Regions from separate parts of the Homo sapiens genome. Here regions 1, 3, 4, 5, 6 and 7 are each linked to region 2. The links are contacts of gene promoters, found by promoter capture Hi-C in blood cells and fetal thymus (Javierre and others, 2016). All regions are on one chromosome and are shown on one strand. The core of a region is centred on a gene start or on the middle of the fragment in contact, and the rest is flanking DNA. Distances in the headings are between cores, read along the strand shown.

Region 1 (3,798 bases), core at 370-2,869, 310 kb after region 2:
AGTCATCTACTTTCTGTCTGGTAGCCAACGTTTCTTTTAAAAACTTCCATCTGACCACATCACTGTCCTACTTAAAAATTCGGTAGGGGTTTCCCATTGCACTTGGAGAAAAAATGGCAATTCCTCTTCAGGGCCTTCAAGGCCCTTCATGACCTGGCCCCTGCCCGCCTGGCCAGCCTCACCTTGGCCCACTTTCTGCTCCTTCCCACCCCGGGGCCTCTGTACATGCTGCTCCCTTCACCTGGAGGACTCTTGCCCCAGGTCTTTGCAGAGCTGGCTCCTTCTCACTCTCTGGGCTGTGGCTCTGCTGGTCCTTCCTCAGAGGAGCCCTCCCCGACCACCCTGACTAGCACCTAGTAACCCCTGCAGCACAACCACTAGGCTTCCTCATCACTCCACCCTGTTCATTTCCTTCTACCATTTGTCACAGTCACAATTAATCTTCTTGTTCACTTCAGTGAGACTCATCTGGGCTTGTTTGAGTGCCTATGACGGGGCCTTGCCCTGGCAAGCGCTCAGCAAGTATCTGCTGAATGATAAGAAAGCCTCTCAGTTTCACCTCTCATCCCTCCCACCCGCTGGCTGAATTACTGCAAACCCATTCTGAGAGGTGCAGAGTGGGTCAGCTCACTAACTGACCAACTGCCCCCCAGCAGCCCCACACGGCTCATAGGAACACAGTTCAGTCGCTGCCTGTGCCACCCCCTGCAGACTGGCTCCAGATGCCTGCCTCTTGGGGCACCCGCTGCCTCGGACATGCTGCCACTCACCCTAGGGAACGGGCAGTGATCTGATGGATATGCCACAGGCTCTCATGCCCCTTCTTGCTCTGTCCTCTACCATAGCCCGGGTGTCCTCAGGAAACGGGTCCTCACTCCTGCGGGCAGAGTCCATGCTCACCACCAGGCAAGTGACCCTCTATTGTGCTGACAGCCTCCTCGTAGGACTTTTCTGTCCAAGAATGACTGATGCTTTCTTGGGCAAGGGCCTGGGTTGGTCTGCCTGGAGTTTGTAGTCCCCATGTTGAGCACACTGCCTGGCACACGGCCGGTGCTCCACATGCATTTGCTGAATAACTAATTACATGAGGAAATTCATCAGAAACTGCAAGCTATTCCTCCTGATCACTTAAGCCTCCAAGAGGCCTCTCCTGATTGCTCAGGCGGATGTAGTACCCTCTACCCTCAGCCTGCCCCACCGCATTACCTAGTTTTATTTTCACTGTTGCACTTCTCGCTACATGGGATTATTTTACTTGGTTACTAGTTTACTGTCTGTCTCCTCTAAGAGAATCCAGATTCCATGAAAGCATTTGTTTGCTTCACCACTGCATCCCCAATACTGATCCCAGTGCCTGGCATCTAACAGGGGCTTCCAAAATATTTGTTGGAAGAATGAATGAATCAATACATGCATAGCATTAGCAGAAAATGGGAGAAGGAATTCAATTTCCTTGAATATACAGTTCTACTCTTCCAAGAAGAAATTCCCAAGAAAAAGAGGTAGGATGCCCAGGCGGGAACACAGGTGAGTGGTCTCTCCAGCGCATAAGATGGATGAAGGTGCATGGCAGCACACCCAGTAAGCCATGACGTCTCTGCTCCCCGTACAGGTCAGGGCTGCAGGAAGGAAGCCCATGGAGAACACCAGTCACCAAGATGAGGAGCTTGCCCACTGTCCCATGGAGCCTGGCATCTACACCACACAGACAGCACCTTCTTTGCTGAAGCCCTGAGCTACAAGCTGCCAGGAAGAGATGGCCTTGGGGACGTGCCACATAGCTGAGCAGCAACCAATCAGCAAACTCTGGCTGAGCACTGACTGAGTGCCAGGCGGTAGGCTGGGTACTGCAGGGAGCACATGGTTTCTGCCTTCCAAGGCCTAGCAGTCCAGAATGGGAGAGAAAAAATACAGAGAAAAGGCGGTATTAAAAAGTGCCACAGGAACCTCATGGAGATTAAAAAACATCTGGTCTTCCCAAGATGTTGTTATGAAAATGAAAAGACATGCCACAGACTTGGGGGAAATCATTGCTAAATGCCTCTGATAAAGGACTTGCATTCAAAATACATAAAGAACTCTCGAGGCTGAGGCGGGTGTATCACTTGAGGTCAGGAGTTCGAGACCAGCCTGGCCAACAGGGCGAAACCCTGTCACTACTAAAAATACAAAAATCAGCCGGGCGTGGTGGCGCACACCTGTAGTCCCAGCTACTCTGGAGGCTGAGGCAGGAGAATTGCTTGAACCTGGGAGGCGGAGGTTGCAGCGAGCCAAGATTGCACCATTGCATTCTGGCCTGGGCAACAGAGTGAGACTCCGTCTTAAAAGAAACAAAACAAAAAAACCCAAAAGTCTCGAAACACAATATTTTTTTTACTCAATTCAATTTAAAAAACGGGCTAAGGATTCGAAAAGACTCTTCACTAACAAAGACATGTATGGCAAAAGAAACACATGAAAAGATGTTCAATGTCATTAGGGATATGCAAATTAAGATCATAAGATACCACTGCAAACCTATTAGAATGGTGAAAACTAAAAAGGTGGCCACACCAAATGTTGGAAAGGAGGTAAAGGAACTAGAACTCTTGTACACTGGTGATGGGATATAAAATTATATAGGCATCTTGGAAAACAGTTTGGCAGTATCTTAAAATAAAAGCAAACATACACATATCTCCCATAATTATATGGGAAATATGATTCAGCCATTCCATTCCTAGGTATTTATCCAAGAGAAAAGAATGTATATGCTCATACAACTCTCTGTATGGGCATACATTGTATGGGGCCACACAAATGCTCACAGCAGCTTTGTTTGTAATAGTCCAAAACTGGAAACAACCCAAATTTCCATTAACAGATGAATGAATAAACTGTGGTATGTTCATATAATGGAATGTTACTCAGCAAGAAGAAATGAACTACAGATACACACAACATCATGATGGATCTCAAAATAATTAAGTGGATTGAAAGAAGCCACATGAAGAGGAGTACATGTTGCATGACTCTGTTTATACAAAATTTTAGAAAGTGCAAAACTAATCTAGCATGACAGGAAGCAGACTGGTGTTACTTGGGGAGAGGGGTGTGGGAAGCAAGGGAGGGGAATGAGGAAATGTTTGGGATGCTGGATTATACACTGCCTTGATCATGGTGATGATTTCACGGGTATTTACATATGTCAAAATATTAAATTGTGCACCTTAAATATGTTCAGTTTATTGCATATCAATTAGACTTCAATCCAACTTTTTCTTTAAAGGTGCTATGCTTCTGGCCAAGATGGACTGAATTTATCCTACTAATTCAGGCAACTTAGAAAGCAAGACAATATATACAAAACAATGGTTATCAGACTCTGGATGAACAGGCAGCATAAGAGAGAGATCCCTGAGAGGGAGAAGCACAAAGGCAGTGGCCCAGTGATTGCTCCAGCTTGCTGTCCAGTGAGAGTATCCGGGCCTCAGCAAAGGGATAGAAAACCCAAAGACTGTGGTTCTCTCAGAGAAGGCAGAGTCTGGAGTTCAGGGAGATCAAGGGGTTAAAATTCATGGACAAGATAAATGAAGAGAGAGCTGCAGAGAGAGAGCTCAGACATGTGCAGAGGGTTCCTTTAGAACCTTGCTGTGTTCTGGTCTGTGCATGCACATGAAGAAAGGGAAAGACCTGCCAGAATGAAGCCTGTGGAACAATTCCTGGAGCTCACACTGGGGGGGCCAGTGTGGAGAGACCACCTCACCATGGGACACAGTAGAGTCTCAGAAGGGTAATGTCTCAGTAATAGGGCGAAGT
Region 2 (3,893 bases), core at 384-2,883:
GATGTACAACACGTGCTCAACTGACATCCCAGGGAACAAGTGAGATGGATGCCCATTGCCTATCACTCAAGACTATTGGTTCTTGGAGCACTTATGTGTCAGGAACTGGGCCAGATGCTGAGGATACAGTTGTCAGGACCACACAGCTCTGGCCCTCCAGTAGCTTGGGCTGGCCCAGTGGTTCTCAAAGTATGGCCCCCAAACCAGGCGTGGTGGTACAGGCCTGTAGTCCCAGCTACCCAAGGAGGCTGACGCAGGAGGATTGCTTGAGCTCAGGGCCAGCCTGGGCAACACGGTGAGTCCCCTATCTCAAATAAATAAAACATTTAAAAAGTCGAAAGTATGGTCCCCAGACCAGCAGCATCAGCATCACCTGGGAGCTGGTTAGAAATGCAAATTTCCAGCCCCACCTGGACCTCCTGACTCACAAACCCTGAGGGTGGAGCCCCAGCCATCCCAGCTTTACCAAGCCCTCCAGGAGAGACTGATGCTGGCTCAAGTTTGAGCATCAGTGGTTTAAGAGAGGAAGCAGGCAGGGCGCAGCGGCTCATGTCTGTAATCCCAGCACTTTGGGAGGCCGAGATGAGCAGATCACTTGAGGCCAGGAGTTCGAGACCAGCCTGGCCAACATGGCAAAACCCAGTCTCTGCTAAAAAATACAAAAATTAGCCGGGTGTGGTGGCACATGCCTGTAATCCCAGCTACTCGGGAGGCTGAAGCATGAGAATCGCTTGAATTCGGGAGGTGGAGGCTGCAGTAAGCTGAGGTCGCGCCACTGCACCCCATCCTGGGCGACAGAGTGAGACTCCGTCTCAAAAAAAAAAAAAAAAAAAAAAGAGAGGAGGCAAACATGAGTGAGCTACAGCCCAAGACAGTTCAATTAAGGAGAAGTACAGGAGGGTCTCCCGTTCCTAGGGGCTAGGGAGGACTTCCCTGAGAAAGGCACATTTGAGCTGAGACGTTAAGGATGAGCAGAAGTTTCCCAGGACAGTATTTCCCAAAACAAGGATATCAACTGGGAGAGGGGGCTTGTGACAAACGAAGGTGCCGGAGTCCCTCCCCAGAAGATTCCCACTAGGGGTGGGAGAGTCCCAGGAATCTGTATTTGTAAAAGGGACGGCAGGTGATGCTTATCATCAGATCAACTTCACCAAGGAGGGACCGGAGCAAGGGTACCCAAGCGGGGACCCGCAGGGGCAGAGGCCCGGAGGAGGGCCAGACCCGCCCCGCCCCCGTTCGAGTGTCAACAACAAGATCGAATCTGGCCTCGGCAACTTCTCGGCGGGCAGCAGGGAAGAGGGCGCCCGGTAAGGCCCGGGCATTACCTGGGACTAGACAGGGCCGCCCGCGCGGCACCCGCTCCAGGCCGCGGACCGAGAAGTCCCCGCTCGGGTCCCTCAGCCGAGCCTCGCCGCGGTCCGCCATCACTACCCTGCCCTGCATCCACACGGCCGCCAGGTCCAGCGGCCCGCGGCCCGCCGCCGCCCGTGACAGCCGCCACGCGCCCGGGCCGCCCTCCGCGTCGCGCCGCAGCTGCTCCGCCAGCACCTTGAGTGGCGGCGACCTCGGAAGCCGCACCCCCGCGGGGCCGCCTGAGAACGAGTCCGCAGCCGCCGCCATTCCGCCTCGCCGCACCCTTCCGCCCCGCCTCCGCTTTCCCGCCAACTTTGAGAAGCAGCGGGGCCCGGCCCTCAGCCACCAATCAGGAGCGCGCTGGCAGAGCCGGCCAATGGTCGACGTCAGAAGGCGGGACCGCCGGGCGAAGAGGCCCTCTCTAGCAGCCAGGAGTGCGCATGCGTAGATAAAAGTAAATAAACGCCCTCAAGTTAGGAATGAACGGAGGAAATGGGTTAAACGAGAATAAATAATTGAAGGCAGAGAGGTAAAGAACTTCCTCTTTCAACGCATCTCAAAATTTGGCGTGGATGCAGATCACCTACAGAGTATGATTATTCATCTTTACATTGCCTTGTTTTGAGGTTAGTAAATACTGAAACGAATTAAGAGTCCGTGTTTATTGGGAGTGAGCAAGAATCCAGTCAGGAGATAAGGCTGGGGAGGGAGACGGGGAGAGCTGGCAAACTTGCCTTTTCTTTTATTATTATTTTCAGTTATATTTTAATAGCATCAAATAATTTTAAGGTTAATAAAATATATTGCTATTTTTCAGACAAGAAATGCACATTTATTGTAAAAAAAATAGGGGAAAAATGTAGAACAAGAAAATAATTGTAAAAGCCGCTTATAGATACCCACTGTTAATTTTGGGGTATATTAGCCTTTAGGCTTTAAAATATGTGTGTGTATTTTTTTTGAGACAGGGTCTCACTCTGTTGCCCAGGATGGAGTGCAGTGGCACAGTGACGGCTCACTACAACGTTCACCTCCCGGGCATAGGTGATTCTCCTACCTCAGCCTCCCAAGTATCTCGGACTACAGGCGTGCACCACCACGTCCAGCTAATTTTTGTATTTTTTGTAGAGACAGGGTCTTACCATGTTGCCCAAGGTGGTCTGGAACTCCTGGGATCACGCAATCCTGCCTCCTTGGCCTCCCAAAGTGCTGGGATTACAGGCGTGAGCCACCATGCCTGGCCTATTACTGATATACAAATAGTGTTTTGTATATTGTTTTCACTTAATAATGAACATCTTTCTGTATCAGCAAATATCCATCTGCTTCCTCTTGAATGACTGCATAATACTCGATTTGTCTTATCACATATTAAACCAATATCCTACAGTTGGACATTAAGGCTATTTCCAATTTTTCACTTTATAAATATATCCACTGTGGACCTACTTAAAAGATAAATCTTTTTTATTTATTTATTTATTTATTTTTTTGAGACGGAGTCTCACTCTGTCACCCAGGCTGGAGTGCAGTGGCGCCATCTGGGCTCACTACAAGCTCCGCCTCCCAGGTTCCCGCCATTCTCCTGCCTCAGCCTCCCGAGTAGCTGAGACTACAGGTGCCTGCCACCACGCCCAGCTAATTTTTTGTACTTTGTTTTAGTAGAGACGAGGTTTCACCGTGTTAGCCAGGATGGTCTCGATCTCCTGACCTCGTGATCCACCCGTAAAAGCTAAATCTTTTTGTGCATCCTTCAAATAAAATTCCCAGGAATCTCTCCCTAAAAATTGGATGTCCCCAGTCAGCAAAGTCCACAGATCCTAAATCAGGCAATCCTTAAAGTCAAGGTCAGTTCTTAAGAGAAACTTTGAGTTCCCAGGGCCTCCTGCAGTACCAGGCATTCAGAGAGTATTCAGCAAGAGCTTGATTTTTTTTTTTTTTTTTTTTTGAGACGGAGTCTCGCTGTGTCACCCAGGCAGGAGTGCAGTTGTGCCATCTCAGCTCACTGCAACCTCCGCCTCCCAGGTTCAAGTGATTCTCCTGCCTCAGCCTCCTGAGTAGCTGGGACTACAGGTACACGCCACCCGCCTGGCTAATTTTTGTATTTTTTAGTAGAGACGGGGTTTCGTCATACTGGCCAGGCTAGTCTCAAACTCCTGACCTCGTGATCTGCCCGCTCAGCCTCCCAAAGTGCTGGGATTACAGGCGTCAGCCACCGCACCCGGCCAAGAGCTTCATTTTTATAAAATTGAGCCAGGTCCTATTGTAAGAACTTTGTAGGAAGTATCCCATGTACCCCCACAGACCCTGAAAAGACTGTTCCACACAGGTGAGGAAACTGAGGCTTAAGGAAGCTAGAGGGCTGGCCCATAGACTCTCAGTAGCCTCTATGAGGTTTTGGCCTCTACACCTAATATGGTTTGGCTGTGTCCCCACCCAAATCTCATGTTGAATTGTACTTCCCATAATCCCCACATATCGTGGGAAGGACCCCGTGGTAGGTAATTGAATCATGGGGGCGGATACTCCCATGCTGTTCT
Region 3 (4,174 bases), core at 1,552-4,051, 450 kb before region 2:
GGGCGGGGGAGGGGCGGCGGGGTCCGGGGCCCGCGGACCCGAGAGGACCCTGAGAGGAGCCGGGCCGGGGCCTGTGCGCGCGGAGGGACGGGTGGGCGCGCCGTCCCCTTCCCCCACCGAGAATAACGTGACCCACTTCTGCCTGCCATTCCCTCGGCAAAATGTCTCCTTTTTGGTGATTTCACTAAAAAAAAATTTTTTTTTTGGTTATTTCTGTCTGCTCTGGTGATCGCGGGGATCCCGATTCAGCGTCTTGGGCTTGGGGGCGGGAAGGATGCCGGCGGAGAGCTTGGCGCATTAATTTGGGGCTCATCCGTCTTTTTTACCCCCCTTTCTGATTTTTTTATTTTTTCGCGCGGGGTGCAGCCCTGGGCCGGGCGGGGAGAGGCCTTGGGGTCCGCGGAGGCGGGGGCGCCGCCCGGGAGGACCGGGACCGGGACCTGTCAGTTCCCATTAGCGGGGCTTCCGGTCAGGCCTGGGCAGCAAAGGGGTGGGGCCGCCTGAGGCCCGGCCGGGGCCTCCGAGGTCGAGCCTGAGTCGGGACTGGGTGGATTTGCCAGGAGTTGGGTATTTTCCTGTCCCCACCTGTCTAGGGATGAAAAGGAGTTGCCCGTGTTCGGTATTGAACCACGAAGGACCTTGCCATGCCCAGTACGGTGGCCACTGACCCCCCGCCGTTTGGGACGATGGAGCCCACGAAATGGGGCCAGTTTCAGTTGCGGTCCCAGCTGTGAAACGTACATCTGATTTTAAAAACTTCGGATGAGAAAGAAAGTAAAAGATGTCATTGGTAATCTTTTATACTTAAATGCATGTTGAGATGGTCATGTTTGGGACAAATTGGATTAACGAAAATAGATCATTAAAATTAATCTTGGCAGGATGCAGTGGCTCATGCCTGTCATCCCAAAACTTTGGGAGGCTGAGGCAGGAGGATCGTTTGAGTGCAGGAGTTCAAGACCAGCCTCAGCAACATAGTGAGACCCCTGTCTCTACAAAAAATACAAAAAATTAACTGGGCGTGGTGGCGCACGCCGGTAGTCAGCTACTCGGGAAGCTGAGGTGGGAGAATCTGCTACTCGGAAGGCTGGGGTGGGAGAATCCCTTGAGCCCAGGAGATTGAGGCTTCGGTGAGCTGAGATTGTGCCTTTGTGCTCCAGCCTGGGACACTGTCTCAAAACAAACAAATAAAAAAACAAAAGTTAATCTCACTGCTTTTCTTTTTCTCTTTTTTTAGTGTGGCTATTTGGAAATTTAAAATGACATATACGGGCCGGGCGGGGTGGCTCAACGTCTGTAATCCCAGCACTTTGGGAGGCCGAGGTGTGTGGATCACCTGAGGTCAGGAATTCCGAGACCAGCCTGGCCAACATGGAGAAACCCCGTCTCTAGTAAAAATACAAAAATCAGCCAGGCGTGGTGGCAGGCGCCTGTAATCCCAGCTACTGGGGAGGCTGAGGCAGGAGAATCGTTTGAACCGGGAGGCAGAGGTTGCAGTGAGCCGAGATTGTGCCACTGCACTCCTCCCTGGGCAACAGAGCGAGACTCCCTCTCCACATACATGCGTACATACATACATACATACAATGACACGTATGGCTTATTTTGTGTAATATATTTTGTACAATATTTCGACTGGACAGCGCGCAGCTGGGGCATCTGAATGGGTGGTGGCCCTGAGAAGACATGTCTATCTGCTTATCTTTCCTGCTTCTCTGATGGCATGTGGCCTCCTTCCCTTAAGCTCTCAAAGAATCCACTGCCTCTTCCTTCTCATACTGAGCCAAACTGTTGAACTGAATTGCACAATGGGTCTTGTCCTAATTTGCAGAATAATTCAAGTTAATGGACAGTATTTTCCCTGTTGAAAAATTTTCCCTATCTGCTGTATGCTGGAGGCTACAAATAGTTGTATGAGGTTTGTCTCAGGATGAGATCATGAGTTGTTGAGGCTCAATATTATCAATATTTGTGCGTGTGTGTTTGTGTGTGTGTGTTTATTCTACAAAGAGCCCGTTGATTTTCTGCCATCCAAACGAAGTGGAGAATTCCTGCCTTTCTTCATGTTACTGTGACTTTTCGTTGGGGGTTTTACACAGACCTACACCCTCTTTCCTTCCCATTCCCCAGATTCTGTCAGTTTTTGCAAATAAGAATGGTGGCTTGTCAGCCACATTGTTCCACAATTCTTAGTTTTGACTGATTTTAAAACCTGCCAGTTGGGGTGGGTTAAATTGTCATTGTAAGTGGAAGAGAATCAATTATAGAAACTCTCAACTCCAGGGATGGTGAGAGTGACTGTTGGAAAGTTTTGAGCATTTCAGTAAAGGAAGAAAGAAACAAAAGACGTCTGTATCCTGTTGCCACAGATACCCTAGAAAGGGCTTTCTAGAGACAGTATGATGTGAGCAAACTTTTGTCTTCTGGATAACGTCTGGAAGTGTTCTGTTTTGTTTTGTTTTTTTTCTAGTGAAAATATTTTTCTCCAGAATCCTTATGAAAATTACTTAAAGTGTGAGGTGTTGGCAAATCAAGAAGAAATTTTAGATAATTTTTAAGGAGGAGAGAAGTATTAAAGTATTAATCCAGAAGTTTAAAAATTACTGCTAGTGATAACGTTTTAATTTACATGTACACAAAAGGCATATTAAATGAGGTGATTTTCGTTTATGTAAAGCAACGAGGTTACTTTTTCACAAATAGAAAGCGGGAAGCTTTATGTTTTCTGAAAAGGCCTGAATTTGGAGCAGGACATTAATCTGGCACATTTGGTAAGAAGGTGAGAGTGTGTTGGGGTTACTTGGTTGGGAAGACTTCATCGGCTGGCGGTCTTGGGTACATCGTGGTGGTATCAGTGTCCCCAGGCAAATCATTTGTCATGAAGCTTTTACATGAAATATTCCTGTTGAGTTCTTCCATACAGAGGTCATAGATAAGATGAGATGTTCCTGGGAACCACCACTTAGCAGGGCGTGGGTGCCGAGGGAGGCTCTTGGCAGGCGGAGCCTCTTCGCAGAGGGAGGCTCTTCAGGCTCTTCACAGACTTTGTATCTTACTGAATCTGAAATCTGACAGCAATTTCAAAGTGAATAGTTCCTGTGGGGGGAAGAACTCCAGCCAAAATGTAACATTACCTTCCTGCTGTTGTTTGGCATACTGTCTCTCATGAAATTTTCCTTTTCAGTAAAAGGGAGAAACTGTTTCATAAAGTATCCAATAGGAGCTTCAACAACTTTAATGTCTTATCATCTGGGTTTGCAGCCTTCTGAGGCTTGCCTTGTGCCCCAGGTGCTTTTGTAAGTGTTGCAAGAGCCAGTTAATATACTGTTGCCAATTAAGGATGACAATAATGATACTTTAACTACTTTGTAGTTGTTGTTTTAAAGCTATTAATATTACACAGGCTTCAGTCTGGGGATAGAATTGAATATGGAGTGGAATGTATCATTTTTCCTCCCCCCCACCCCCTTTTTTTTGAGACAGGATCTTGCTCTGACACCCAGGTTGGAGTATAGTGGCATAGTCATAGTTTGCTGTGACCTCAAACTCCTGGCCTCAAGCAATCCTTCTGCCTCAGTCTCCCGAGTAGCTGGCACTACAGTGTACACCACCATGCCCATTTAATTTTTTAAACATTTTTATAGAGATGGGGTCTCCTATGTTGCCTAGGCTGGTCTCAAACTCCTGGCCTGAAGCGATCCTCCCACCTCAGCCTCCTAAAATGTTGGGATTACAGGCATGAGCCACTGCACCCAGCCTGTAATTTTTCACTTGAAATGTAGGGATACCTTTTTAGGCAAAAGTACAAATGCTGTGCTAGGTGACCTCTGCACTGCCTTCACTGGGAGACTTTGGTCCTGTGTTAGTACATCTTGTAAGTAAGGCTGTTTTAATATTATTTGTATTTAAATACATTATGTTCTGGGTGGAGCAGATCCCCTTGAAAGATTTTCCCTGGAGTGATGTCCAGACTCCTGGCCTACTGCATTCCTGTGAAAGCCCTCTGCTTTGTCTGAGTTGCATTAAATGACGTCTGTTGAGCATATCTTTTTGTGTACACAAGTGCACACGCATGCGTGTGTTTCTTTCATTTCTCCTGAATGGCTTTAAAGTGCCCACCTGTTCATCAGAGCCATATTTGTCTTTCAGAGCCCAGCCCAGGGCCACCCTAGAC
Region 4 (3,864 bases), core at 488-2,987, 400 kb after region 2:
GCGGGGGCGCGGGGGGTGCGCGAGGACCTGCGGGGCGGGGCGGGAGAGAAGGCTGCCGGGACCGGCCCTAGACACTGAGCCGCGGTGGGATCCCCACCGGCTCTGCGAGGCCCTGCGAGCGCCAGGGAGGCGCCACGAGGGAGCCGGGCAGCCGCGGGCCACTTCAGGGGGGCCCGCCTCGCCGCCCGGGCGGTCGAGAGATCCTTGGGGGCACATCTCGGGGTGCGGTGACCCGCCCGGCGCATTTCGGGGGTCGGGGCGCAATTGCCAGGGGACATCTGGAGCCCGGCCCTGCTTCTGTCGGGCTCCAGGGTACCCCTGGATGGCTGCGCTGTGCCCTCGCCGGCCGCCCGGGCGCCGCAGCGGCTGAGTTCGCCGGGATCGCCGGGCCGCCGCCCTTGCCACCCGCTGCATGCTCGGCGCCCGGGTCGCGGCCCACCTGGACGCACTGGGCCCCCTGGTCCCCTACGTGCCGCCGCCGCTGCTGCCCTCTATGTTCTACGTGGGCCTGTTCTTCGTCAATGTGCTGATCCTGTACTACGCCTTCCTCATGGAGTACATCGTCCTCAACGTGGGCCTCGTCTTCCTGCCCGAGGACATGGACCAGGCGCTCGTGGACCTCGGCGTGCTCTCCGACCCCGGCTCGGGCCTTTACGATGCTGACTCGGAGCTCGACGTCTTTGATGCGTACTTGGAGTAGGGTCTCGACTGCTGTTCCCCTCTTCCCTACACGATCCGCAACCCATGCCCTGGACCAGCCGCCCAGATCATGCCGCCGCAGCTGGTTGGGGGCACCATCTGGACGGGGATGGTTCCCCAGGAGGAGACCCTCCCCTGCCTCCGAGGCCTGTAAGTGCCCTCTCTGAACAGGATGAGGGCGGGTTGGGGCGCTAGCAAGGGAGAGGGAGGAATTCCCAGGCCGGATACACACCCCTCCCTCAGGCTTCTCCTCCGTTCACCTCCTCCAGGTCTAACTGGATGCCAGGAATGGCCAGACTCCTCTTAAGCCCTTCGTTTGGGCTGGAAAGCTTCCTCCAGCAAAGGGGACAGCTGGTGAAAAGGAAGGAGACCCCGAGACTAAGTTACATTTGGGGTAGCTCTGTGACTTACCCCCAAAGCTTATGGAAAAAGCCTTCGCTCCCAAATCCATTTGAGGCAGAGCTGTCAGCTCCTCCTCCAGTCCTCATCCTGGCTTGATGATGACCTTGGCTTTTGGGGGATTCTCGCTTGTCCTAGAAGGATAAAGATTTAGGGGTGTCAGAAGACACAGGGAGCCAGGCACGAATCACCTTTGTACTGTGGCCCTTGGGGTAGCTGGGTGGGGATTAAGTGCAGGGGCTCTAGGCCAAAGCTGTGAGAGGAGAAATCGCAAGCAAAGAAGCCCGTACTTCCTTTTGGCCTTGGGTTTGCTGCTATTTTGGAGTCAGGTTTCAGGGTGCCCCAGCTCATCAGTTCTGCAGCTCAGAACTGCAGGGGCTGCCAGTTTTGTAGGCTCCCTTCACAGAACAGGCAGGCAGGGAGCTGGTGCCAGGGCTCGCTTTGTCTGCAGTGTTTGCAAGCGCTCAGGGGGCTCTTAGGTCCTCGGGAGAAGGCACCACAGGGTCATTGCACTGAGATGGTCAAGTCCTGTCTTTGGGGCTGTGACGAGGGAGCTTTGCATCCAGCATCCAGCCCACTGTGTATGTGAGAGGTAGGGAAATGAAGGTCCAGGAAGGAGTAAGACTTGGTCATAGTCACAAGGAAGAGAGGCAGCTAGACTCAATTAGAGAGAACACGTGAGCCAGACAAGCTGTCAGGCAGCTGCCAGGTCTGGTGAGGGTCACAGGGCAGGCAGGAACGCCTTGGCTCAGCCCCTGAGACTGGACAGTACTGGAGTGTCACTGGGCACAGGGTCTAAGTGGCAATGAAGAGGGGATGCTGAGATATGGTGGGCAAGGGCTCCTTTAGGAAAATGGACACTAATGCCATTCACCGCAAGCAGGCTGAGTCCACCCCTCTCCTGCATTACCTGGCTTTGCCAAGACAACCACAGGCAGAGGGTGTCTTAGTTCAGTCTGCTATAACAGAACACCATAGGCTGGGGGACTTAAACATTTATCTCTTACTGTTCTTATAAGGGCATTAATCCCACCCATGAAGGCTCTGCCTTCGTGACCTAATCACCTCCCTAAGGCCGCACCCCGCAATACCATCATTTGGGATCAGAGTTTCAACATATGAAGTTTGAGGAGACACAAACATTGAGTCTGTTGCAGATGGTGGTACAGGGTGGGGTAGGACCTACTGACAGCATAGCTGGCGGCAGAGGGCTCTCCTAATGGGTTCACAGTGAGATTTCTTTGAAGAAAAAGCTTCAGTTGAGCTCAGTAACATCTTAGCGAGAACCAAGTGCCAGGGGGAGTGTGTGCCAGGTGCTCTGCACACCTCCCCAGCCTGCCTGCCTGCCTGCCATCCATCCGTCCGTTCTTTTACAGAATGAATGCTTGTTGGTTCAGTACAGTGCCTGGTGATTGAACACAGTGAACAAGACAGACCAAGCCTTGGCCCTTTGGCACTTGGTGAGGAAGACTAGTAGGAACCCAAACAAGAGAATCAGATTTTTTCGGAACTATGAAGGCAGGCAAGAAGGACATGAGCTTCCCTGTTGTGTTCACTGCCATGTCCTCAACACTTAAAACTGTGCCTGGCCTCTAGTAGACGGTCTCTGTAGGTGTAGACATGGAGTGAAACAGAAGTGAAACGGTAGGATAGAGATGGTGGGCTGCTTTAGCTGAGGGGTCAGAGAAAGCCTCTCTAAGGAGATGATGCTTTTGAGCTGAGCCTTAATTTGATAGAAGGATCTGGAGAAAAGCAGTCCAGGCTGAGGGAATCAGTGGTGCCAAGACCTTCAGGTGAGAGAGAGTTGGTTTTTCCGCAACCAAAAGGAGGCCCATGTGGCTGGAGAACAGCCCCAGGAAAGGTCAGTGAGGTGGGTGGGAGCCATACCATGGAGGACCTGGAAGGCCATAGCCAAGAGCAGTGGAAAGCCATTGGAAGGTTCTAGGCAGGAGATGACACAATCCCATTCCCATTTTGCAAAAATGACTCTGGCAATTGTGGACAGAATGAGCTGAGGGGTAAGAGGGGAAGCAGGGCCACCACCTCAGATGCTGTTAGTTGTCCAGGCCAGAGGTGACAGAGGCTTGGATGAGGGGAGTTTAGTGAAGATAGAGAAACATGAACAGACTGAGAACAACTCTCAAAAGTAGAACCTATGGAATCCATTCAAAATCTGTACTGAGCATTGATTGTATCGCACTCCTGTGTCTAGGCCCTTTGCATATGCACTCACTCATTCAACAGACTTTGACCCTGCCTGCTCTTCTGCCAGGCCGTGTGCTAAGGGCCTGCGATCCCAAGATAAATCCCTGTCTCCAAGCCAAGCATTTGACTTTGAAGCAGTGTAACTTGGTGAGGAACGTCTTATTTTATCTCTTTACCACATCAACAGAAACACTTCCCCTTCCAAATGAAAACATTGGCATATTCTGAACTAAAAACTGAATCCCAAATGCTTCGACATATTTTGCAGCAAACGCTGTTTAAGCAGAAACACCAGGAAATATCTCTCAGGGACACCCTTGCAAAGCTCTCGGGGTGTCAGGGCCTGACCCTGGGAAGTGGGGAGGCCTGGAGAAGTGGTGGAAGCCATGCACAGCCTTCCCTCCTCCCCACCCTCAAATCCAAGCCAAGGAGGCCTTGCCCCCAAGTGCCGAGGAAGCTCAGAACCCCAGGGTATGAGAGGGGTAGCTAGCAGCAGGGAAGCCGCCAGGAAAGACCTCAAGATGATCTGACCGAGCCTCATCTCCAGGCCCCTTTCCATAA
Region 5 (3,878 bases), core at 1,362-3,861, 340 kb before region 2:
CGTCTCCTTCAGCACCTGCGGCGGGTGGATGCTCCAGTGCTGGAGTCCCTGGCCCTGGAAGTGCCGGCACAGCTGCCAGACCCGCCAACGATCACAGCGTCCCCCTGCTGCAACACTGTGGTGCTGCCCCAGTGGCACTCCTTCTCCAGGACCCACAACGTCTGTGAACTCTGTGTCAACCAGACCTCCGGGGGCATGAAGCCGAGCTCGGTCAGCGTGCCACAGTGCAGCTTTTTTGAAATGGCAGCAGCTCTGGATTCTTTCTACCTCAAGGAGCAGACCTTTTATCATGTGGCATCAGACAGCATAGAATGCAGCAATTTTTTAACTTCCTATAGCCCCTTCAGCTACTACACTGCATGTTGCAGGACCATAAGCAGGGGTGTGTCAGGCTTCATCGACTCTGAACAAGGTGTCTTTGAAGCCCCTACTGTTGCATTTTCTTCCCTTGAGAAGAAATGTGAGGTTGATGCCCCAAGCTCCGTTCCTCACATTGAGGAGAACAGGTATCTCTTTCCAGAAGTGGACATGACTAGCACAAACTTCACAGGCCTGAGCTGCAGAACCAACAAGACTCTCAACATCTACCTTTTGGATTCAAATTTGTTTTGGTTATATGCAGAGAGACTGGGTGCTCCGAGCTCCACTCAGGTGAAAGAATTTGCGGCAATTGTTGACGTGAAAGAAGAATCTCATTACATCTTGGATCCAAAGCAAGCACTGATGAAGCTCACCCTAGGTACTGCAGGCAGTTTATTTCCCCAAGCATTGTACATTTTGCTTGACTTCATATGGGTAAATTTTATTGATGGCTCTCATTACATTTAGTTGTGGGGTGATGTCACCTTCGTAGCTCATTTTAAGTCTTTAGACCACCATCAGTCATAATTTTCAAAGAAGCTAATTTTGTCTATTAAATGGAACAGAAACTTCCTCACTCTGAATTTTGGATAAGTTTGTCATTTAGCCCATGGTGGGGGTAAGAGTCCCACTTTCTAAATTGGCGATTTCTGTCACATGTCTAAGGTAGAACCAGCTGCAGGCAGTGGGGACTTGGGGACTAGAACAGGCAGGGAGGTGGAGAGCTATTCTGGTGGGATGTCCTAGGGGCTGATGAAAGTGAGCCTTGACAGCAGCTTTGTTCTAAAGGAGCTTAAAGAGAAAGCAGTGGCCGGGCGCAGTGGCTCACGCCTGTAATCCCAGCACTTTGGGAGGCCGAGGCGGGTGGATCACGAGGTCAGGAGATCGAGACTATCCTGGCTAATGTGGTGAAACCCCGTCTCTACTAAAAATACAAAAAAAAAAAAAATTAGCCGGGCGCGTTGGCGGGCGCCTGTAGTCCCAGCTACTCGGGAGGCTGAGGCAGGAGAATGTCGTGAACCTGGGAGGCAGAGCTTGCAGTGAGCAGAGATCGCGCCCCTGCACTCCAGCCTGGGCGACAGAGCAAGACTCCGTCTCCAAAAAAAGAGAGCAGTGAAGAAGGAAGTAGAGCCGCCTTGCCTCCCTTTTTGTCTCATAGGCTTAAATGTCTAAGGATCAAGGCCACCAGACCTAATTTGTTCTGCTGCTGTTTCATAATGTACTGAGTAATATTGCTGGGACCTGGGGTACCTACACTGTAACAAGTGTAAAGTGCAAATAAATAAGTGTCAGTCGCAAACCAGCAAAACCCACTTTTTGAGGAGTAAGGCTCCATGATGAGAAAGCACCCAGAGCTTGCCCCTGGGACTTGGCAGCAACATTGGGCTGACCCACCCTGGCCTGTTCCCAGGAATTTGCTGATGCCCTTGACTACACACAATGAAGTGAGAATTCAAAAGCCACGTTAGTTCAGCCTCATTGGAAACGGGAGGGAGGGTCAGTGTATGCCGAATGGAGAAAGGAGGAATTTGGTAGGGAAGGAAACCTTTCATTTCAAGTTTTAAAGTATGAACTCAACAGTAGACTCAGAGCTTCTACATATGAGTCTTTTTAGCCATCCTCTTTCAAATCTAGGTGAAGCTTGTTTCTTACATTAGACACATTTGTGAAAAGGCTTTATGTAAATATTGATTTTTCTATATCAAGTTACATATTATAAATCCAAGAGTTCCTCACTGTGTAAAAGAACCCTGTGACCAGTCACTTTTTGAAGGGCATAAATCTGTCGATATTATAGATTACTCCCAATTCATGTTATCTAAAGTCATTTTGATGTGTTGAGCTTTCTTAAAATGAAACAAGCATTTTTTTTTTAAATGGGAAAGAGACTCCAGAGAAATGGGGTCAGTGTTCCTACAAGCATGTATTTTTGAGGTAGTCTGTATTAGATTTTCCTGAATTCCATTCAGTAATGCTCAAGTGTTTAATGACCTCATAATGTGTTCACTTTGAATTTAAGGGTAATTGAAAGAAGCCTTCTTTAGATTTCTTTCCATCTTCTGTATCTTCTCTGAAATGTTTAGCCTAGCTGTTCTTTGTCCTGCAGTTAGTGACAGAATTCTTAGGGAGCTTGTAAAAAACACCTACTGTGTGTCATTGTTGGTTTAGAGACTTAACTCATAAATCAGCTGTCTCTAGGCTAGTTTCAGAATTTAGGCTTTATTCAGATTAGGAAATAATTCTTGGTTTCATGTTTCAAAAACATAGCCAACTAAGTGTTTCTCAGATGCTGATCATGAATTCTCTTTAGTATTCACATGACATTCTTCACTTCCTCTTCCATTCTGCACGCTGCATTGCCCATTGCACCTCAAAATGGAGGGAGTTAGAAGAAAGAAAAAGAACTGAAACTTTAGCTGAGTGCAATGGTGGACGCCTGTAGTCCCAGCTACTCTGGAGGCTGAGGTAGGAGGATCGCTTGAGCCCAGGAGTTTAAGGCTACAGTGAGCTATGATTGCAGCACTGTACTCCAGCCTGGGCAACAGAGTGAGACCCTGTCTCTTTAAAAAAAAAAAAAAAAGTGAAATTCAAATTAGTATTGTTTCAGATGAAGCAAAGGACTCTGAAGATGGCAGAATTTGTGGTAAAACTGTTGGTTCAAATCAGGTTTTTGATTATTATGGGTTTTATGTATTTTTCCACTACATATAATTTTTTCTTAACCTTTAAAAAAAGAAACTTAAAGAACCTTAATAAAGGAAACAAAAAACTGTAGCTCCTTGTCCTCAAATTAATGAGCATTTAAACACATTCCACACTACTGTAGCTTGTGCAGTTGTCACATTTGTGGTTAAGCTTAAAGGTCTTAGTATTATAGGGTGAAATTTCTTGAAAAGATGGTGGCTTGTTGATGATTTATACAGTCTCACTTGGTGTCTATTTGTGGACCAGTCCTTTTAAAAAAAGAATAGTCTATGAATATTAGAGCATCTAACATTGCATAGTGTTTTGTTATCCACATTACTGTCTGCTGAGTTAATACTACCAGAGCTAAACCTGATGCCACCCGGGCAGCTTTGTTTGGGGTTTTGCTGATAGGTGAAATGTTAAAAATGTGAGCCTATGAAGTCATTTGAGTTTTTAAAATGTGGAGTTTAAAAGTAGGCCAGCTATTCTCTTTGTATCTAGAGGAGAGTTGATCTCATTTTCTCTTTATTTTTAGAGTCTTTTATTCAAAACTTCAGCGTTCTCTATAGTCCCTTGAAAAGGCATCTCATTGGAAGTGGCTCTGCCCAGTTCCCGTCTCAGCATTTAATCACTGAAGTGACAACTGATACCTTTTGGGAAGTAGTCCTTCAAAAACAGGTATGGAGTCATGAGAGGCAAAAGTTAAGCCATCTGTCCCTCTTAAAATAATTTCCAAACTACAGTTGTTGGGGTGAGCAGCTGTTTTTGATGTATAGAAGAGTAACCACGTGATGGCCCAATTATGGACCGTGAATGAATTACATGTGGTT
Region 6 (4,389 bases), core at 1,742-4,241, 430 kb before region 2:
CTCCGTCTCAAAAAATAAAATAAAATAAAAAAATAAAAATTAGCTTTGGACAGAAGGTTAGGGATTTAAGAAATAATTTGTTTCTTAGTTATTGGTCCTTGATGATTCCCATTTGAGTATGGCTTTTGAAGGTGTGTCTGCTTATAAAAAAGTCATCCAGGGAAGATACAGGTCTTCACAGGTCAGTGTGTCTTTCAGGTATCCCTGTTCACAGTTAACATCTTAGTCAAGATCCAGTTGATCTTGTAAAACACTCTTGGTAAAAAACACTCTTACGAGTGTTTTTTTTTTTTTTTTTTTTTTTGAGACAGTGTCTCGCTCTGTCACCCAGGCTGGAGTGCAGTGGCACGATCTCGGCTCACTGCAACCTCCGCCTCCTGGGTTCAAGCAATTTTCCTGCCTCGGCCTCCCGAGTAGCTGGGACTACAGGCGCATGCCGCCGTGCCCAGCAAATTTTTTGTATTTTGTTAGAGATGGGGTTTCACTGTGTTGCCCAGGCTGTTCTCGATCTCCTGAATTCAGGCAATCTGCCCGCCTCAGCCTCCCAAAGTGCTAGGATTACAGGCGTGAGCCACCGTGCCTGGCGAGTGTTTTTTTAAATCAAGAAATAGTAATTAGTCTTCAAAGGAATTCACACTAGATTTTCACATTTTTAAGCTTAAAAGCTTTTGAAGTGCTTTTTTTTCTTTTTTTCCTTTTAAAACTTTTTTTTTTTTTTTTGAGACAAGAGTTTCACTCTTGTTGCCCAGGCTGGAGTGCAATGGCACAATCTTGGCTCACCGTAACCTCCGTCTCCCGGGTTCAAGAGATTCTCCTGCCTCAGCTTCCCGAGTAGCTGAGATTACAGGCATGTACCACCACACCTGGCTAATTTTGTATTTTTAGTAGAGACGGGGTGTCTCCATGTCGGTCAGGCTGGTCTCGAACTCCTGACCTCAGGTGATCTGCCCGCCTCAGCCTCCCAAAGTGCTGGGATTACAGGCATGAGCCACCACGCCTGGCCACCTTTTTTAAATTTTTGAGATGGAGTGTCACTCTGTTGCCCAGGCTGTAATGCAGTGGCACAATCTCGGCTTACTGTATCCTCTGTCTCCTGGGTTCAAGTGATTTTCCTGCTTCAGCCTCCCGAGTGCTGGGATTATAGGCACCCGCCACCACGCCTGGCTAATTTTTGTATTTTTAGTAGAGATGGGGTTTTTACCATGTTGGCCAGGCTGGTCTCGAACTCCTGACCTCAGGTGATCCACCCACCTCGGCCTCCCAAAGTGCTGGGACTACAGCTGTGAGGCACTGTGCCCAACCTGAAGTGCTTTTAATTTTCACTGTGGATACTCGGTAAAATATAACCATGAATTTAAGAAAAATATCCGTGTTGTCACCTAGCTCTTTGTTAAAGAGCATTCATTGTTTATTTATTTTGTTTTGGGTAATATATTCCTTATCAGTTAGCTGTTTGGAGTTACGTTTCTGTTTGACATCTTAATGTGCTCCAGCAAAGGGTAACTACAGAGGAGCGAATAGGAGAGGGACACATGGGGACATCAGTTAGGTCTGGAAAGCTTTATTTCTTGAAGATCTGGGGACTTTCTGACCAAATATTAGCATTTGTCTGACCTGGATGGTGTGTACATGGGTATTCATGATATTCTTTCTACTTTTTTGTATTTGAAATTTCATAAAATAATTTAAAAAATAAAAGTAATACTGCTAACTTGGAGTTTAGAGGGAGGGTAATAGGATGGGGTATTAATTTGTTTTTATTACAGGAAGGCCTCAGTGCAAGAAATGAATTGTTTGATTGCTGACTTTATTCTTTGGTCTTACACACCAGGGTTTCCATGATAAAGTTTTGGAGGACTGCAATATAGTCCTCAGTTTAAATGCCAGTAACTGCAAAGCTCTGTATCGGAAATCTAAGGCTTTAAGTGATTTAGGAAGATACAAAAAGGCTTACGATGCTGTAGCAAAGTGCTCCTTAGCAGTGCCTCAGGTATGGAATTTATAGTTTATTTGTTTACATCGTAACCATTTACATCATAATAAATGGCATTTAAAGAGTTAAATTTTCCAGTCATCCATCAACCTGCTTCAGTTGGGTATAAATGCTAATGAAGCAGGTGTCTTGATGGGAAACTTCCCTGTTTTGTCTATTCTTCTTCACCATTAGTAAATATAACCCTGTTAATTATACATACTTATTTTTTTCAGGATGAGCATGTAATAAAACTAACTCAAGAACTAGCTCAGAAATTGGGATTTAAAATAAGAAAAGCGTATGTCAGAGCTGAGGTAAGCTGGAGTTCTCTGCATAAGGTGTTTTCATTTTGTTTTAGAACTTGGAGTCAGTTCTGTTTTTAAATTAGTGTCTTTATTTTATTTCAGCTCTCATTAAAATCAGTTCCTGGGGATGGGGCTACCAAGGTAAAGTTATTTTTTCTGTCAAAATTATATTTTTTTTTAAAGGGAAGGATGGGAGCAATTCTACTTTTAGTATTTTTGGTGTGTGTTTATTTTTGGAACCTTTTTAATTCCTCAAACACGTAATTGGCAATACCCTCCTGTCACTTTATTTATTTTTTTGAGACAGAGTCTTGTTCTGTTGCCCAGGCTGGAGTGCAGTGTCCTGATCTTGGCTCACTGCAACCTCCACCTCCTGGGCTCAAGTGATCCTCCCACCTCAGCCTCCCGAGTAGCTGGGACCACAGGCACACACCACCATGGCCTGTTAAATTTTTGTATTTTTTGTAGCGATGGGGTTTCACCATGTTGCCCAGGCTGGCCTCAAACTCCTGAGCTCAAGTGTTCCTCCTGCCTTGGCCTCCCACCAAATGCTGGGATCACAGGCGTGAGCCATCTCTTCTGGCCTCTTCTAGTCACTTTACAAAAGAACATCTACAACTCAAGTAATATATTTTAGCTGTAACCAGCATTTCCTGAATGCTCCAGTGGGGCATTTTATAGGATGTTAATAGATGTTAGGTTTCAGTGCAATAAGAGTGGTTCAGGGCCAAATACTAGTTTTGGGAGTCATTTGTGATAAAATTAACAAAGGGTTTTTTTTTGTTTTTGTTTTTAATTTTAAAATTAAAATTTTCTTGGGGCTAATAGGATGCTAATGGCTATTGTGAGTTGGGCAATGATTGGTGGCCAAATTCATCCCTGTTATTCTGCTGAATAGCCTTTGAGAAATGCTGGTCCACGAGAAATAAGTGGCAGCACTGCTAGACCAGCACCTCACCTAACACCACATGTATACAGGTTTGCGTGTTCCATTCATTTCTTGGATCTTAATTGGGAGTTGAATTTCTGTGGAAACCTGCATTGTTCTCTTAGGGTGAGTTTTTTCTTTTTTTCTTTTTTTTTTTTTTCCAAGACAGAGTCTCGCTCTGTCACCTAGGCTGGAGTGCAGTGGCGCTATCTCAGCTCACTGCAGCCTCCACCTCCCGGGTTCAAGCAGTTCTCTTGCCTCAGCCTCCTGAGTAGCTGGGATTACAGATGCCTGCCACCATGCCTGGCTAATTTTTGTATTTTTAGTAGAGACAGGGTTTCACCATGTTGGCCAGGCTGGTCTCAAACTCCTGACCTCGTGATCTGCCTGTCTCGGCCTCCCCAGGTGCTGGGATTACAGGCGTGAGCCACTGTGCCCGGCCTAGGGTGAGTTTTACTGATTGTTTTATGGCTTAGAGTCCTGAAAATATTATAACCCATTGTTTGGTTTAATTTCTAGGCTTTGAACCATTCTGTGGAAGATATTGAGCCAGGTATGTTTTCACATATCATCTTAACAATTTGAATAGTGCCAGCTTTGTACCTGATGTCTTTGTATGTGATGTATTGTCAAATAATATCGCTGTGTGGTTATATTCATATTAATGTATTAATATGAAAGTGAAAATGATTTCCAATGCTCCCTTTGTGCCTTTGGATGTGCCAGTGAGTGACTGAAAAGTGTTGGATGTTAGTAAGCAATCACTGACACCCACTGTGGCCTTGCCACTGTCTGATAGCTGTGCCCAAAGAGAGATACAGGCATTTTGTGAAAGAAGGATAAGTTTTCACACGTGACTGTATCTGTTTGGAATTGCTTTACTATACTGTCAATTTTATTATTTTTATAATTGCCTTCATATTTTCATCTTTGTATCTCTATTATTGGGGATTAATGGTATTATTATGTAAGTACGATGAAAGTGACTGAGTACATTTCCATCTGTGTTACAGATTTATTAACTCCAAGGCAAGAAGCAGTTCCTGTTGTCTCTTTACCGGCACCCAGTTTTTCTCATGAAGTTGGAAGTGAGCTGGCCTCAGTTCCTGTTATGCCCTTAACTTCTATTTTGCCACTACAAGTGGAAGAGAGCGCTCTGCCATCTGCAGTGCTGGCAAATG
Region 7 (4,185 bases), core at 1,588-4,087, 330 kb after region 2:
AGTAAACAGCAGAGCAAACAGTACACAGATATGGCCAAGAGCTGGAATGTGGGCTGGGCGTGGAGGCTCATGCCTGTAATCCTAGCATTTTGGGAGGCTGAGGCAAGAGGATCCCTTGAGGTCAAGAGTTTGAGATCAGCCTGGCCAACATGGTGAAACCTATCACAAACATTAGCTGGGTGTGGTGGCGGGCGCCTGTAATCCCAACTACTGGGGAGGCTGAGGCATGAGAATCGCTTGAACCCAGGGGGTGGGGGTTGCAGTGAGCCAAGATTGGGCCACTGCACTCCAGCCTGGGTGACAGAGTGAGACTCTGTTTCAAAAAAAAAAAAGAAAAAAAAAGAAAAAAAAGAGTTCGAACGTGGTGCAGACTGCTGTCGGGGAAACATAATTCTCTTTCCCTTCTGCCATTTTCACCTTCACCAGCCTCCTTCAGGCACCTAGTGTCCTCCAACTACCTTGGCCATCTCCAAAGTGGGTATGGACCTCAGTGGGCATGCAAGATGATTCCCTAGGCAGTAGGTCTTTTAACGCTTCTCATCTTTTAAAATCTATTTTGTTTTATACTGTCCATAATACTAGCATGATCATATTATATATAATTTATAATACATAAATTTTTACACATATTTGGGAGATGTATGCTTAAATGTCATATGTATAGGTTTGCTTGTGTTTACTAACAAGGCTTGCCATCAGACATCTGAAGACTCCCAAGCAAGCCTGTGAGGCTAGCCTCCTCCTCGTCTCCCAGCCTCTGGCCTCTGCCCCATGAGGCAGAGGACGTGGCATAGGCCCACCTCCCCTACAGCTGCAAGTTCTCCTTCCCCAGGCTCAGCTCTGCCCTGCTTGGTTGACACAGTGGGAACTCAGCTCCAAGTACTTCCTAAGGTTACAGGGCCAAGCCCCAGCACCCTGGCCTGGAGGCCAAGCTTTGTGACGTAGTTGTCCCCTTTCTGGCTTAATCTCGTTGGACACCAGCAGAATTCCGGAGCAGAGAAGAGGGTGAAGACAATTCAGCACCAAGCTCATCCAACTTTTTTTTTAAGCAGCTGAATACTAATTTGCAGGACAATTTTCCAGGGCATCCCACCACAGTCAGCAGATGAGCGCAGAGCTGCTCCAGGAAAGGGTGGTGGGCATCAAATGCCTCTGACTGCCGTGGGCTCCCTCGTGCACTCCATGAGGCCCCTTTCTGGAATTCTACGGCTTCACACAAAACTGCTTGAAAACCACCGTCTGGTCCAACCCTGGATATTGAGTATGAGTGCACAGAAACCCACAAGTGCAGTGATTCTTAACACAGCTGGAAATGCAGCAGCAAAGCCAGGACCGCTCCCCCTTCCTCACCCCCAACCCCCGTGTCACATCTTGACGCAGAACCAGACCCACATGGGCCTCTCCACACAAAATGGGATTTCCACACCCTGGCTGTGACACCTGTGCGCACAGCTGCACCTCACAGTCCTCATCCAGCTAGCACAGCTGTAGAGTGAGTGGCTCCACTTAATTTTCTAGATGAATGCGGATCAGATCTTCAAATGTCAAGGAAAGGTTTCTTGCTCTTCTTTTTGATAGTTTTATCCAAACAACCCTTATAGGTACTGAAACAACCCTTATAGGTCTGCCAATTCCCTGAAGCTCTATGCAAAGTGCTATGTGGGCATGGGACCAGTTGGTAGCAGGTTTTTGGGGGAAAGGGCTCCCCAGATTCTCACTGCTCTAAAGTGAGTATCATCTTTAGAAGAGGACATCAAAGAGGACTTGACCTCCCCTGATGATCAGGGTCACAGGGAACCTCCTCATAGTGCTACACCTGAAGTTGGCACGGTTCTGTGCCACTCCGGGCCCCAACTCCAATTGTCCCTGTTGTCACTGGCCAGCCTCCCTCCCAAGGTGCGGGCGCCACACTGCTGCCACCAAGGAAAGCAGCTCAGTAGGCTATGTGGATACAGAGTTCCACCTATGGTCCCCAAGGCCGGGACTGAGGCACTGAGGCTGGATTTCCAGGGGGCTCTGACTGAACCTCAGTTATGATACTATTTGGAGTTTGAAGGGACTGAAGCAATAGTTTAATTTGCTTGCTTTTATGATTTCTGTCACGTCTCTGTGTTACCTGTACTATTTTTCATTTTATTTGAACTATTACTTTTTTTTCACTTAAATACAGCTTAAAAGGAAAGTTTAAATCACCGTTATACTCTACAACCTAGCAGCCCACTTGTAGGTCTTTCTCCGCAAGACACACCTCTGGAAGTATGCAACTGCACATGCACAAGGATATTTACTGTAGTATTCTTTGTAATTGCAAAATACTGGAAACTACCTAAATGCCCAGGCATAACAGACCGATGGAATCAACTATGGTACATACACACAGCACAGCTGTGAAAAGGAATGAAGAAGATCTGAGAAATGATATGGAGTAATTTCCGGAGACATTGCTAAGTGGAAGGAACACATATGCTACCCTGTATGTAAGAAAGGAAAAGAAGAAAACATACACAAATCTGCTTATTTTTACAGAAAGAAACACAGGAAGGAGACTTCTTCAGTACACAATCAAGTTGGTTATCTATAAGAGATGACAGGAATTAAGTGGAAGGGAGGAAGGATACTTCAGTTTGCTAATATTCCATGCATTTTTAAAATGAAAATTAAATCAATGAGAATGAGAAAGAAGAAGCCTAAACTGGAAATTTTAAAAAAGAATCCAAATTTCTTCTTCTTCTTCTTCTTCTTTTTTTTGAGACAGAGTCTCACTCTGTTGCCCAGGCTGGAGTGCAGTGGCATGATCTCAGCTCACTACAACTTCTGCCTCCCAAGTTCAAGCAATTCTCCTGCCTCAGCCTCCCGAGTAGCTAGGATTACAGGTGTACGCCACCATGCCCGGCTCATTTTTGTATTTTTATTTATTTATTTATTTTTGAGACAGAGTCTCACTCCATCGCCTAGGCTGGAGTGCGGTGGCGTGATCTTGGCTCACTGCAACCTCTGCCTCCCAGTCTAACGGGATTCTCCAGCCTCAGCCTCCCCGAATAGCTGGGACTATAGGTACACATCACCATGCCTGGCTAATTTTTTTGTATTTTCAGGGCTCCACCATGTTGGTCAGGTTGGTCTCGAACTCCTGACCTCAAATGATCTGCCTGCCTTGGCCTCCCAAAGTTCTGGGATTACAGGTGTGAGCCAGCACACCTGGCCTCATTTTTGTATTTTTAGCAGAGATGGGGTTTCACCATGTTGGCCAGGCTGGTCTCAAACTCCTGATTTCAAATGATCCGCCCATCTCAGCCTCCCAAAGTGGTGGGATTACAGGTGTGAGCCACCATGCCTAGCCTGAATCCAAATTTATTTTAAATGAATACCAAATCCACTCTGAATGGGGAAAGGAAGGATGCTCAGATTAATCCAAGTAGCTTATAAACACAATACAGCAGATCTTTGAATAACATCATTTCATTCAACATTGTTGCATTATAACATGGATGAGGATAAAAAGAAAAAAACTGATTCCCAGTCCCGGCCACCGTCTATGTGGAGTCTGCATGTTCTCGCCATGTCTGCATGGGTTTTTGCCACATATTCTGGTTTCCTCCCTCATCCCAGAGATGTACATGTTAAGTTCCCTGGCATGTCCACACAGGCGCAGTCTGAGTGAGTGTGGGGGCGTGTGAGTTTGTCCTGTGACAGGATGGTGCCCTGTCCAGAGTTGGCTCCCACCTGGCGTCCTGAAGTACCCAGGCACTGGTCATACAAGATCCTAAACTGGAAATATGCGAGTTGGAAAATAAATGAATACAAATGATTGTCAAATAACAATTCATAAAGTAGACGATAATACAAATGCATGACAATAAATGATGTGGTATGAAAGCATTCAACAAGCCTACCAGATTTGTGATTGGTTTTGAACCTCGTGCAGGAAGGAGGTGCTCCTTATGATTTTTCACTTTGCAAACATTTATTCCTTGATTTAACCCACCACCACCATGACTGCTGTTCATTCATTAATTCACCAAAAATCGGGTAAGTAATTATCTTACATGTTTTCATAAATCTTTCTTTTTTTTTTTTTTTTTTTTTTTTTTTGAGACGGAGTCTCACTCTATCGCCCAGGCTGGAGTGCAGTGGCGTGATCTCGGCTCACCACAAGCTCCGCCTCCCGGGTTCACGCCATTCTCC

Evidence for each region. The method cuts DNA at HindIII sites, captures the fragments that hold promoters and counts their contacts. A CHiCAGO score of 5 or more calls a contact.
Region 1: a fragment that was not itself captured here is called in contact with the fragment with the promoter of RMI2 in region 2 in 9 of 17 cell types (activated CD4 T cells, naive CD8 T cells, naive CD4 T cells and 6 more); the score reaches 11.7 in activated CD4 T cells.
Region 3: a contact is called between a fragment that was not itself captured here and the fragment with the promoter of RMI2 in region 2, in 4 of 17 cell types (activated CD4 T cells, naive CD8 T cells, total CD8 T cells and 1 more). The highest score is 7.7, in activated CD4 T cells.
Region 4: a fragment that was not itself captured here is called in contact with the fragment with the promoter of RMI2 in region 2 in 7 of 17 cell types (activated CD4 T cells, monocytes, naive CD8 T cells and 4 more); the score reaches 7.6 in activated CD4 T cells.
Region 5: a fragment that was not itself captured here is called in contact with the fragment with the promoter of RMI2 in region 2 in 5 of 17 cell types (naive CD8 T cells, activated CD4 T cells, naive CD4 T cells and 2 more); the score reaches 7.8 in naive CD8 T cells.
Region 6: a contact is called between a fragment that was not itself captured here and the fragment with the promoter of RMI2 in region 2, in 1 of 17 cell types (activated CD4 T cells). The highest score is 5.2, in activated CD4 T cells.
Region 7: a contact is called between a fragment that was not itself captured here and the fragment with the promoter of RMI2 in region 2, in 3 of 17 cell types (activated CD4 T cells, total CD4 T cells and non-activated CD4 T cells). The highest score is 6.9, in activated CD4 T cells.

The regions. Positions count from the first base shown.
Region 1 is chr16:11,029,188-11,032,985 of GRCh38, reverse strand. All of the region lies in intron 13 of CLEC16A (C-type lectin domain containing 16A), which reads right to left. Among named protein-coding and RNA genes, the nearest start is that of CLEC16A, 87 kb to the right of the region's middle. The HindIII fragment of the contact is 5,549 bases long and covers 1-3,798 here.
Region 2 is chr16:11,343,199-11,347,091 of GRCh38, reverse strand. RMI2 (RecQ mediated genome instability 2) reads right to left here and starts at 1,633. Exons shown (of 2, transcript NM_152308.3): 1 at 1,326-1,633. The coding sequence starts at 1,620. The region is part of intron 1 of LOC105371082 (a long non-coding RNA gene); the gene reads right to left. LOC105371083 (a long non-coding RNA gene) reads left to right here and starts at 1,880. Exons shown (of 2, transcript NR_135174.1): 1 at 1,880-1,979. RefSeq lists silencers at 1,305-1,384, 1,405-1,564. The HindIII fragment of the contact is 15,776 bases long and covers 1-3,893 here.
Region 3 is chr16:11,792,835-11,797,008 of GRCh38, reverse strand. All of the region lies in intron 1 of ZC3H7A (zinc finger CCCH-type containing 7A), which reads left to right. Among named protein-coding and RNA genes, the nearest start is that of ZC3H7A, 2.3 kb to the left of the region's middle. RefSeq lists an enhancer at 1-52 and a silencer at 360-519. The HindIII fragment of the contact is 170 bases long and covers 2,717-2,886 here.
Region 4 is chr16:10,938,554-10,942,417 of GRCh38, reverse strand. DEXI (Dexi homolog) reads left to right here. Exons shown (of 2, transcript NM_014015.4): 1 at 1-849. The coding sequence starts at 413. The coding sequence ends at 700. It also overlaps a transcript of CIITA not described here. Among named protein-coding and RNA genes, the nearest start is that of DEXI, 2.0 kb to the left of the region's middle. RefSeq lists a silencer at 1-360. The HindIII fragment of the contact is 1,233 bases long and covers 1,121-2,353 here.
Region 5 is chr16:11,688,151-11,692,028 of GRCh38, reverse strand. TXNDC11 (thioredoxin domain containing 11) reads left to right here. Exons shown (of 12, transcript NM_015914.7): 8 at 1-739; 9 at 3,584-3,726. Among named protein-coding and RNA genes, the nearest start is that of SNN, 22 kb to the right of the region's middle. The HindIII fragment of the contact is 1,215 bases long and covers 2,004-3,218 here.
Region 6 is chr16:11,774,352-11,778,740 of GRCh38, reverse strand. ZC3H7A (zinc finger CCCH-type containing 7A) reads left to right here. Exons shown (of 23, transcript NM_014153.4): 5 at 1,832-1,990; 6 at 2,209-2,289; 7 at 2,383-2,421; 8 at 3,728-3,761; 9 at 4,222-4,389. Among named protein-coding and RNA genes, the nearest start is that of ZC3H7A, 21 kb to the left of the region's middle. The HindIII fragment of the contact is 2,860 bases long and covers 1,562-4,389 here.
Region 7 is chr16:11,012,502-11,016,686 of GRCh38, reverse strand. The region is part of intron 11 of CLEC16A (C-type lectin domain containing 16A); the gene reads right to left. Among named protein-coding and RNA genes, the nearest start is that of CLEC16A, 70 kb to the right of the region's middle. The HindIII fragment of the contact is 3,806 bases long and covers 935-4,185 here.